2 separate regions of the Homo sapiens genome follow, and region 1 is linked to region 2. Evidence: promoter capture Hi-C in 16 types of primary human blood cells and fetal thymus (Javierre and others, 2016). All regions are on one chromosome and are shown on one strand. The core of a region is centred on a gene start or on the middle of the fragment in contact, and the rest is flanking DNA. Distances in the headings are between cores, read along the strand shown.

Region 1 (3,950 bases), core at 411-2,910, 4.0 Mb after region 2:
AATAGAACTCAGAAGACTAAATGAATTCTAGCACAGTTCTGCATCAGCGGTAAACACTTAAGAGTAGCTATTATTAACAGCTATTACCAGGTAAGGAACTTGCCTAAGGTCACACAGCTAATAAGCATCAGGCCTGGAAATTCAGCCCTTGCTTTCTCCTCTACACTTGTCTTCCTCATATACCACACTATTGCATTTTTTACATGGTTTTTACTTGCAAATTGTGAACTTGGATGATTTCCTTGTGTGCCCCACATATTCCTTTATCTCACAGTATTTACAGAGCATCCACTGTATGTGAACTGCATTGGATGATTGACAAGGGAAGAGCCTACAAGCAGGGGCTGCACTTGTGCAGGTAACAGGTAAAACGTAACGCTTCTCAAAGCCTTGCGACCCCCTAAATCGAAATCTGGAGAAGGGGCAGGGGTCGCAAAGGAGACGACGAAAGGGAAGTGACTGAGGCAGAGGTCAAAGTGAAGGTAGGGGGACAAAGGGGAGGCTCTTGCAGGGTTTCATGCGAGGTTTGATCGTGGGCTGCGTTGTTACAGGGACACCCTGAATTACCCGCCACCACCAAAAGGGAGCCGCTGGAAGACACCTGAAAGCGCAGTGAACTGTCCACGCCTCGCACGAGCAGACTGACATTAACTATCCTTTACTTCGTACGCGCAAGCCTCCCGCCTCTCCAGACACAAGCACCTTCGCCCAAGGCCCCCTAACGAAGTCCAAGGGAGCTGCCACGCGATGCCCGGCCCCAGAGTCAGTCTCCTCACCCCCAAGCCTGCCCCTCCGAGATCCAAACCCGGGCCAAACGCGTACCCACCCCAGCTTCGCGCTTCGTCCGCTCCCAGCTGCAACAGGGGAGAAAAGGGCCGAGGAGCCAGGAAAACCGAAACAGCGAGGTAGAAGGCGCACGAACCCACCTAAGGCCTACGCCGACTACTGTAAGAACCAAAAGCAGGAAACGGAGCCAGGCACCGGAAGCAACGTAGCCACGCTCCTCAATCGAGCGCCGACAAGTCTAGAAGCCGAGCACAGAGCCGATCGATGCTTCCGGGTCTCTGGCAGCCAGGGCTGGCAATCTCTCTGCGCGTGCGTCTGCCCTGCGGGCAGGAGAAGAGTCCGGAAATGGAAATGGGGAAAGAGAAGGGGGTTGTGAGGACCATGCTGCGAGGGAATAGTGAAGGGGAGTGAATCATTTCCCCTACCACGACCTTGCGAAGCTTTACCCGGCGCAACAGTGCCTTCCACCTTTACAAATCCTATGTAATTTTACAGGCGCTGCCCCTCATGCTATGGGGCAGTTAGTCCTGGTTTCGCCCTTCTTTGGGCTCTAGCTACCCCGGTTTAAAATCACCTTTAGGATAGCCAGTTCCTCCTGCCTCCGAGTCTCCTCTGATTCATGGGGCTCTGCAGGAACTGTCCTCCAACACTGTGCTGATGAACTTGAATCTCAGAGGCTACTCAGTTTGAGGGCCCAGGGCAGACAGAACTGGTGTCTGCCCAATTCTCATCTCTCACCAGATAAGGCAACCATGCTGACTAGAACCCAGTCATCTGTAAGATCATCTGCCTCAATTCACTCGAAAAAATAATTCCCTACCACCCTTCCCACTCTTTTCTTCCAACAAAAGGTCTAGATTTTTCTAGGGTATTCTAAGGAGTTAGTATTTATGCCAAGCTGAATGGGAGTTCCCAAAGTGCATGCATTCATTCATCCATCCATTCATCAGATGTCTGTAAAGCATCACCTGGAATATGAAATGGTTGTTAAGAGTCAACTGGAACCTAATCTTGTACCCTCTGCTTAACTAATCTCTCTGACCTTCACTTTTTTCATCTGTAAAATAGGGATCCTAATAGTACCTCCTTCTAGTTGTTGTAAGCATTAAATGAGCTAAAATAAATGTAAAGTGATTGGCACATTGTCAGACACAATAAATGCTCAAAAATGTTATTTCTGAATTCTGGCTATAACTTGGTTCTACTGGTGAGGCAGGTAGCTGTCAAATAAGTTGGTTTTATCAGCTGGGAATTTTTATTTTTTAAAAACACCCAAAGTTGCAACAACTTGAAAATAATATAAGCTTTTTAAGGGTGGGGTTTTTGTCTGCTCTGTTCACTCAAGTACCCTTAGTAATGGGAAAAGTGACTGATAATTAATATGCATTGGATAATTCAATGAATGACATGGAAAACTAGGCAACAGTAAAACAAATATGCTTTGAACATGCACCTGAGTGTAGAGAATGTTAAGGGATCACAGAAAAGCATCGTTTTATTATATAGATCTAAAACTAGAAGAAATGGCTGAGTGTAGTAGCTCACACCTGTAATCCTAGCATTTGGGGAGGCTGAGACAGGAGGACTGGTTGAGTCCAGGAGTTCAAAATCATCCTGGGCAACATAGTGAGATCTCATCTCTAAAATAAATAAACCAATGAGAAGAAATGTCCTATCTCAGTCAAAGAATTATATCTTTAACAAATTAAAAGAGAATATAAACTTAATATAAACAATTTCTAAATAACAAAGGACAAGCTGTTTTGCATATTACTATGAGCATCTCAGCAATTAGTTCTGTTTGATAATAATGAGGATGGCTACACTACTGAGAATAAACTATACTCTGTATTGTATAAGGGGATCTAGCCAAGAGTTGATAACTGTTAAAAGAGAATAAGATGTGATTATACAAAAACACTCCAACCTGGGAAGAAAATACCACAAGAAACACAGAGGCCTGAAGACAGACTGCATGTTGTGTTCTATTAACAATTAAATTACAGCTATTGTACATTACACTGTGAGAAGGAAATCATCCATTGCCAACTCAGCCGCAATGGTCTGCATGCACTTTTCCAGGTTCTTCTAAAAAGAGCCAGTGCATTTTCCTGTCCTTGGGCAGTCACTCTGGGCATTCCAATAACCCGTTAATGATTCTCAGTGGTTTCCTGAACGATTTGAGAAGCCAGTTATTGAGAACAGTACAGGAAGGGAATGATAAGGATCGAATAGCTTTTCTGGTTTTGTGAGAAACCTTGCATAGCCTGGCTATGTAACTATATTAAGAATATTATAGCAGCTAAACTATGGTCACATGTACTGTAAAACATCATCACTTTATAACCAGATCCACTTCTTGAGGGTGAGATCAGGAATCAGATGTCCAAAACTCACATTTTTAAAAACTAGAAGAGCAAATGAGTTTTGTTAGTTCTGCTCAGTCTGTTCTTTCACATTTGGGTTAGGTATCGTGATTTATTTTCCTGTGAAACAGGCTTTTTTTAATCGAGAGAAACAAGGAGGCAGCGTTATAACCACCCTATCCAAGTGTCATGTATTTGCAGATGATAAAACTTGCTTATTTTGGGAGTAGCAGAAAAATTACTACAAACAGTAGGGAATAAAACTGTGCCAAGATGTCTAAATTATAAGGAAGATAACTGAGGTGTCTCTTAGTGACTCTGAATACACATACATTTCCCTACCTTATCTGCACGTGTTTTATGTTTCTCATTAATTGTTTTTGGTATCTTGCTGCAGTAGTTTTAAGAAGGAGCCATGTATAAAGGAAAATGCACCATAAAACTGGTGGATAAATTTTGTCTTATTTATGTTACATAGAGTCACAAAATGTATGGCAATTCGTTTGTATCTTCTTTCTCTCCCCAGGTGGTGATTACATTAAGAAATGTATCTAGAGTGAAATTATTTTCACAACAAGCATTAAACAAATCTAGGCGTTATTGTTGAGCACCAAATCAGGTTTATGTTTTCCAGGGAGGTTGGGATAATGTTGACTGAAACTTCCTAAAAAGCACCACTCTCCCACCCCCAATTCAGGGAGGAAATAATTTTGTGCAATTTTCTTTCATTTTACTTAATTCTTACATTTCATTCTTTGTGGATACATTCTTGCTTTTAGGAATGAAAGAAACCCAAAT
Region 2 (3,907 bases), core at 28-2,527:
TTTTTCCTTTTCGCCTGCCTGGTTGAAATATGTAGGACTACTTTAGCTTTTTATTGTATTTCATTTAATAAACTTTTATTGAGTGACCCTATGGGCCAAATACTGTGCTGAGGGATGGGGATACAAAGGCGTGTAAATCCTTGTCTCTTCCCTCAAGTTACAGTTCAGCTAGAGGAGAAAAAGACAGTTGTGTTGTCCCAATTTGGATGGAAACCACGTGATTCTACCTTAAGTACTTGCTGAAAAAGCTGAAAGGATGTCAAAACTTGCAGGATTCGGATGCCACTATACAATCCTACAGTGTAAGAAATCTCCTGACCATCTTTCAGCTCAAAGTCTTGCCCCAGGGAATAAGCGCCTGGCTTTAAAAAGTATACAGGCCTGAGTCAGATCCCTCAGGTTCTATTTCTGGTTCTGCTACTGGATCGCCATGTGGCTTGCACAACAGAGAACGCACCCTTCCTACAAAGAGGCAAGATCCCAAGGAGCCCTCTGAGCGAGCGACCTCCATACCCCAAGTGAGGTTGGGTTCCAGGAACCTAGGGGCCGGCTGAACTCCTCACCGGGGCACGCTCTTCCCTAGTGCCAAAGCAACTCATTTTAGTGTGAAATTAGAGCTGCGATTTCGGCACGGTCAGAGGGGCTTCGACTCGCTCCCTTGTGTGAATCCAGAAGCTAAACCTAAAAATAGTTTGCATTTGAAAAGCCTTGACACTTTTCTTACTGAGATTTTTGGGCGTGTGTGGTTCACGTTGCACTAGAGGAAAATGGGGTGGGCGCGCAGGAGGGAGAGTGAAACCACGGGCGATCTAGGCTGCCGGGGCAGGGGACGGACAGAGGCCGCCCTGCGCTTCTGCGACCCTGGAAAAGAGGTCGCAGCGCGTCGCCTGCTGGAGAACTTCATTTCCCAGGAGCACTTGCGGCCCGCGGCAGGGCGGGGCGACGTGCCCAATGCCGGCCCACTGACTCCCATCGTGCCGAAGACCGCCAGCCTGATTGGAGGACTGTCTCGCGGTGCATCTCGGGACTTGTAGTACAACGTGTGCGTGAGAGAAGCTCCTTTGTGATTCGAGGCGCCTTCTCGGCCCTCTGAGCGCGTCCCCGCTAGGTTTTGGCGCGGACGGGCTAGTGTCCCGCCAGGAGAGTTCGGCCTGTGTGCGCGTGCGTAGCGCCCAAGGGGCCGGCCGGCACCTCCCGCGGGGCGGGGCCTTCGGTTCCCCGTCGACACCGCCTTCCTGCCCCGCCCCTCGCCGTGACCGGCCCGCCCCTCCTTCCTGGAGACACAGCTGAGGCGGCGGCGGCGGCGGCGGCGGCGGCAGCAGCGGGGCTGGGGGCGGCGAGTGGCCCGCGCGACACGCGCCGGCCTCGACCCTATGCTTTGATTCGCGTGGCGCAGGCGCCTACTGCCCCGCCGGCGGGGCCCGGGCTTCCTGCCGCGGGATGTTCTCCCGAAGGAGCCACGGGGATGTGAAGAAGTCCACCCAGAAGGTGCTGGACCCGAAGAAGGACGTGCTGACCCGCCTGAAGCACCTGCGGGCGCTGCTGGGTGAGGCGCGCGCCGGGCGCGGGGGTCGGGGCGCCGGGTTAGGGGCACCTGCCGGGAGGGCGCTCCTCTGTGCAGGGGTCGGTGGCTGGGAGGCTGGGGAGGGGGATGGGTGGGCGTCCGACCCCCTTCCCTGGATCTGGGCTTGGACCCCCGGGGCTTTGTTTCCAGAAAGCCGCAGCCTGGCCCTCGGGCACTGCTCCCGTCGCCCTCGAGTTAAACTTAGCCCAGATTCTCGCTGGGCGCCTGCGCTCCCGGAGAACCTGGAGGCCGGGCACAGAGGTACCTGTCCCCTGTCCTCCCAGCAAGTGAACTGGATCCCAAGTGGTCATCACGTGCACACATTGAACTGTCACCTCCCCCTTTCATTTTTAAAATTTTATTTTTGAGTCTGAGACCCTAAGTAGACCGAGACCCCAAGTGAACCCAGCACAGACCTAATTGGGCTCTCATCTCTGTCATCCCCCTTTTAAATTTTATTTTTACTTTTGAGTGTGAGACCCCCATATAGACCGAGATTCCAGGCGATCCCAGCACAGATTTGTCATCTGTCTTCCCATGCTGCTTTTTAAATTTAATTTTTATTTTGGGTCTGGCTGCTTCAGTTTCTTTGTGTCCTTGGTGTGAAGGGGCCTTCTCTTCCTGCTTGGAGAGAGGGGTGGTTTTCTTGGGTTCAGGGAGGCTGCTTCTCCTTTATTACCGGCATGACAGTGATGCTGTCTGCCACCTTCTGGTTTATGGCCTGCCAGGTGGAGGTTCTGAGGAGCTCAGGTGGGCTTGGAGTTGACCTGTGATGAAGCTCGCCCCTGTGGGTGTGAGGTGTCCACAAGGCTTCCTGTCACCTGCTGCATGTGATCTGTAGCTGGTTCGCCTAGGCTATGTTTTGTTTTCTGTATTTTTTTACATCCTAAGTCTTAACTTTTCTTTGGGATGAAAACACCTTTGCTATCTATAGACACACTTACCTGTGTATTTGGTGGCGAAGGAAAGAACACCTTATGTTTCTTCCAGGTGTCTTTTAGTCCCAAAATTCACAAAAATCGCCTAGTGCTAATGTGTCTGTCACTTGAAAGAATATTGCATAAAATGATTTAACGTGTGAAGATTTTAAATAAAGATCTTGTTCATGAGATCAGAAGTTGCTGATTATTTCTATTTATATTCTACCTCTGAGGGGGAGAAGAACCCAAGCCAAACCAAACCACACCTGATTTTGCCAAGTGAAGTTATTCACAATCTCACATACCTTGAGGTTACACTGACTTGTTCAGTTTGAAATGAAATGTAAATTAGTTGCTGTTACAGGGATTCGTTTTCAAGACTTTTGAGAGTGAAGTGTGGAGAGTGAAGTGTGGCGTTCTTGGTAAACTGAATTTTCTACTTCCTGTAGATACCATGCACGCACAGGTTGCACAATACACAGGTTGCATTGTGTGGAGTTCCTGGTAGTGACTGATTAACACCTACTGCAGGGACATTTTTGATAAAGGAGAGTTGAGCTGTGTTTTAAAGCGTTTGATACTTTGAGCCTTTTTCTGTGCTTTAGCGTTTAAATTTTTGTTCTGTCCAGGTCTGCAAGATTAAGTTGGCTACATTTTATAAAGGCAGAATCAAGTAAACCTAGATCAGGTTATTTCTTAGCACACAGTACATTGTTCCCATTCTGAGAAAGTTGATTCTTTTCAAGTTTGTAAAATTGTAGTTTCACTCTAAGGTGTAGGTCTTATTTTAGGGAACTTTCTTTTATCATTTCACTGAACTCATCATGACCTCAGTTTTGTAACATGGAGAGGTTCTTTTATATTTCCTTAGGTGTATGTTTTTTGTTGATATACTTACTAGTGGAGTGGCCCAGTTTGCTTTGTTTATTACTGTGATCTTTGTAGGGACTAGATTTTTGTAAAATGTGTCTGAGGAATTCTAGTCATAATATTTAATGTAAACTTTCACTTGCTCCTGTGATTTATTAAAGACTTAAAAAGTAGTACGTAATGCACTAGTTCCTACCTAATCACATATTCTATTTCATTGCTACTCGAAAAAAAGTCTACTTAGAAAACAAAGGCCTCTTGAACTGAAAGTTAGGAATTAAGCCAAGATTAAGGAAACTATTTGAAGGAAATGAATAGTAATTACTATTGTATTTTTATGTGTGTATTTATATAACACTTTTGCTTTTCATATATTTTATCTTCAAGTGATAATAAAGTTTTTTTTTAAGTATGCAAAGATTATGCCACTTACTTGGGTATTTGCAGCCTGTCCCTGCCGCCTGCAGCTTCATGACTTGAGCTAGTTACGTAGCCTGTCTCTGAACCTCGGTTTCTTTGCTCTGTAAAATGGGTATGGTAATGTTTGCTTTTT

What was found. Contacts are between HindIII fragments. The CHiCAGO score rates a contact against its expected background, and 5 or more counts as called.
Region 1: a fragment that was not itself captured here is called in contact with the fragment with the promoter of RALGAPA2 in region 2 in 2 of 17 cell types (naive CD4 T cells and naive CD8 T cells); the score reaches 8.4 in naive CD4 T cells.

Annotation. Positions count from the first base shown.
Region 1 is chr20:16,727,041-16,730,990 of GRCh38, reverse strand. It overlaps SNRPB2 (small nuclear ribonucleoprotein polypeptide B2), which reads right to left and starts at 965. Exons shown (of 7, transcript NM_003092.5): 1 at 827-965. RefSeq lists a silencer at 508-557 and enhancers at 708-827, 878-927, 986-1,854. The HindIII fragment of the contact is 864 bases long and covers 1,229-2,092 here.
Region 2 is chr20:20,710,014-20,713,920 of GRCh38, reverse strand. It overlaps RALGAPA2 (Ral GTPase activating protein catalytic subunit alpha 2), which reads left to right and starts at 1,277. Exons shown (of 40, transcript NM_020343.4): 1 at 1,277-1,546. The coding sequence starts at 1,441. RefSeq lists enhancers at 817-1,016, 841-1,135 and a silencer at 1,127-1,386. The HindIII fragment of the contact is 11,955 bases long and covers 1-3,907 here.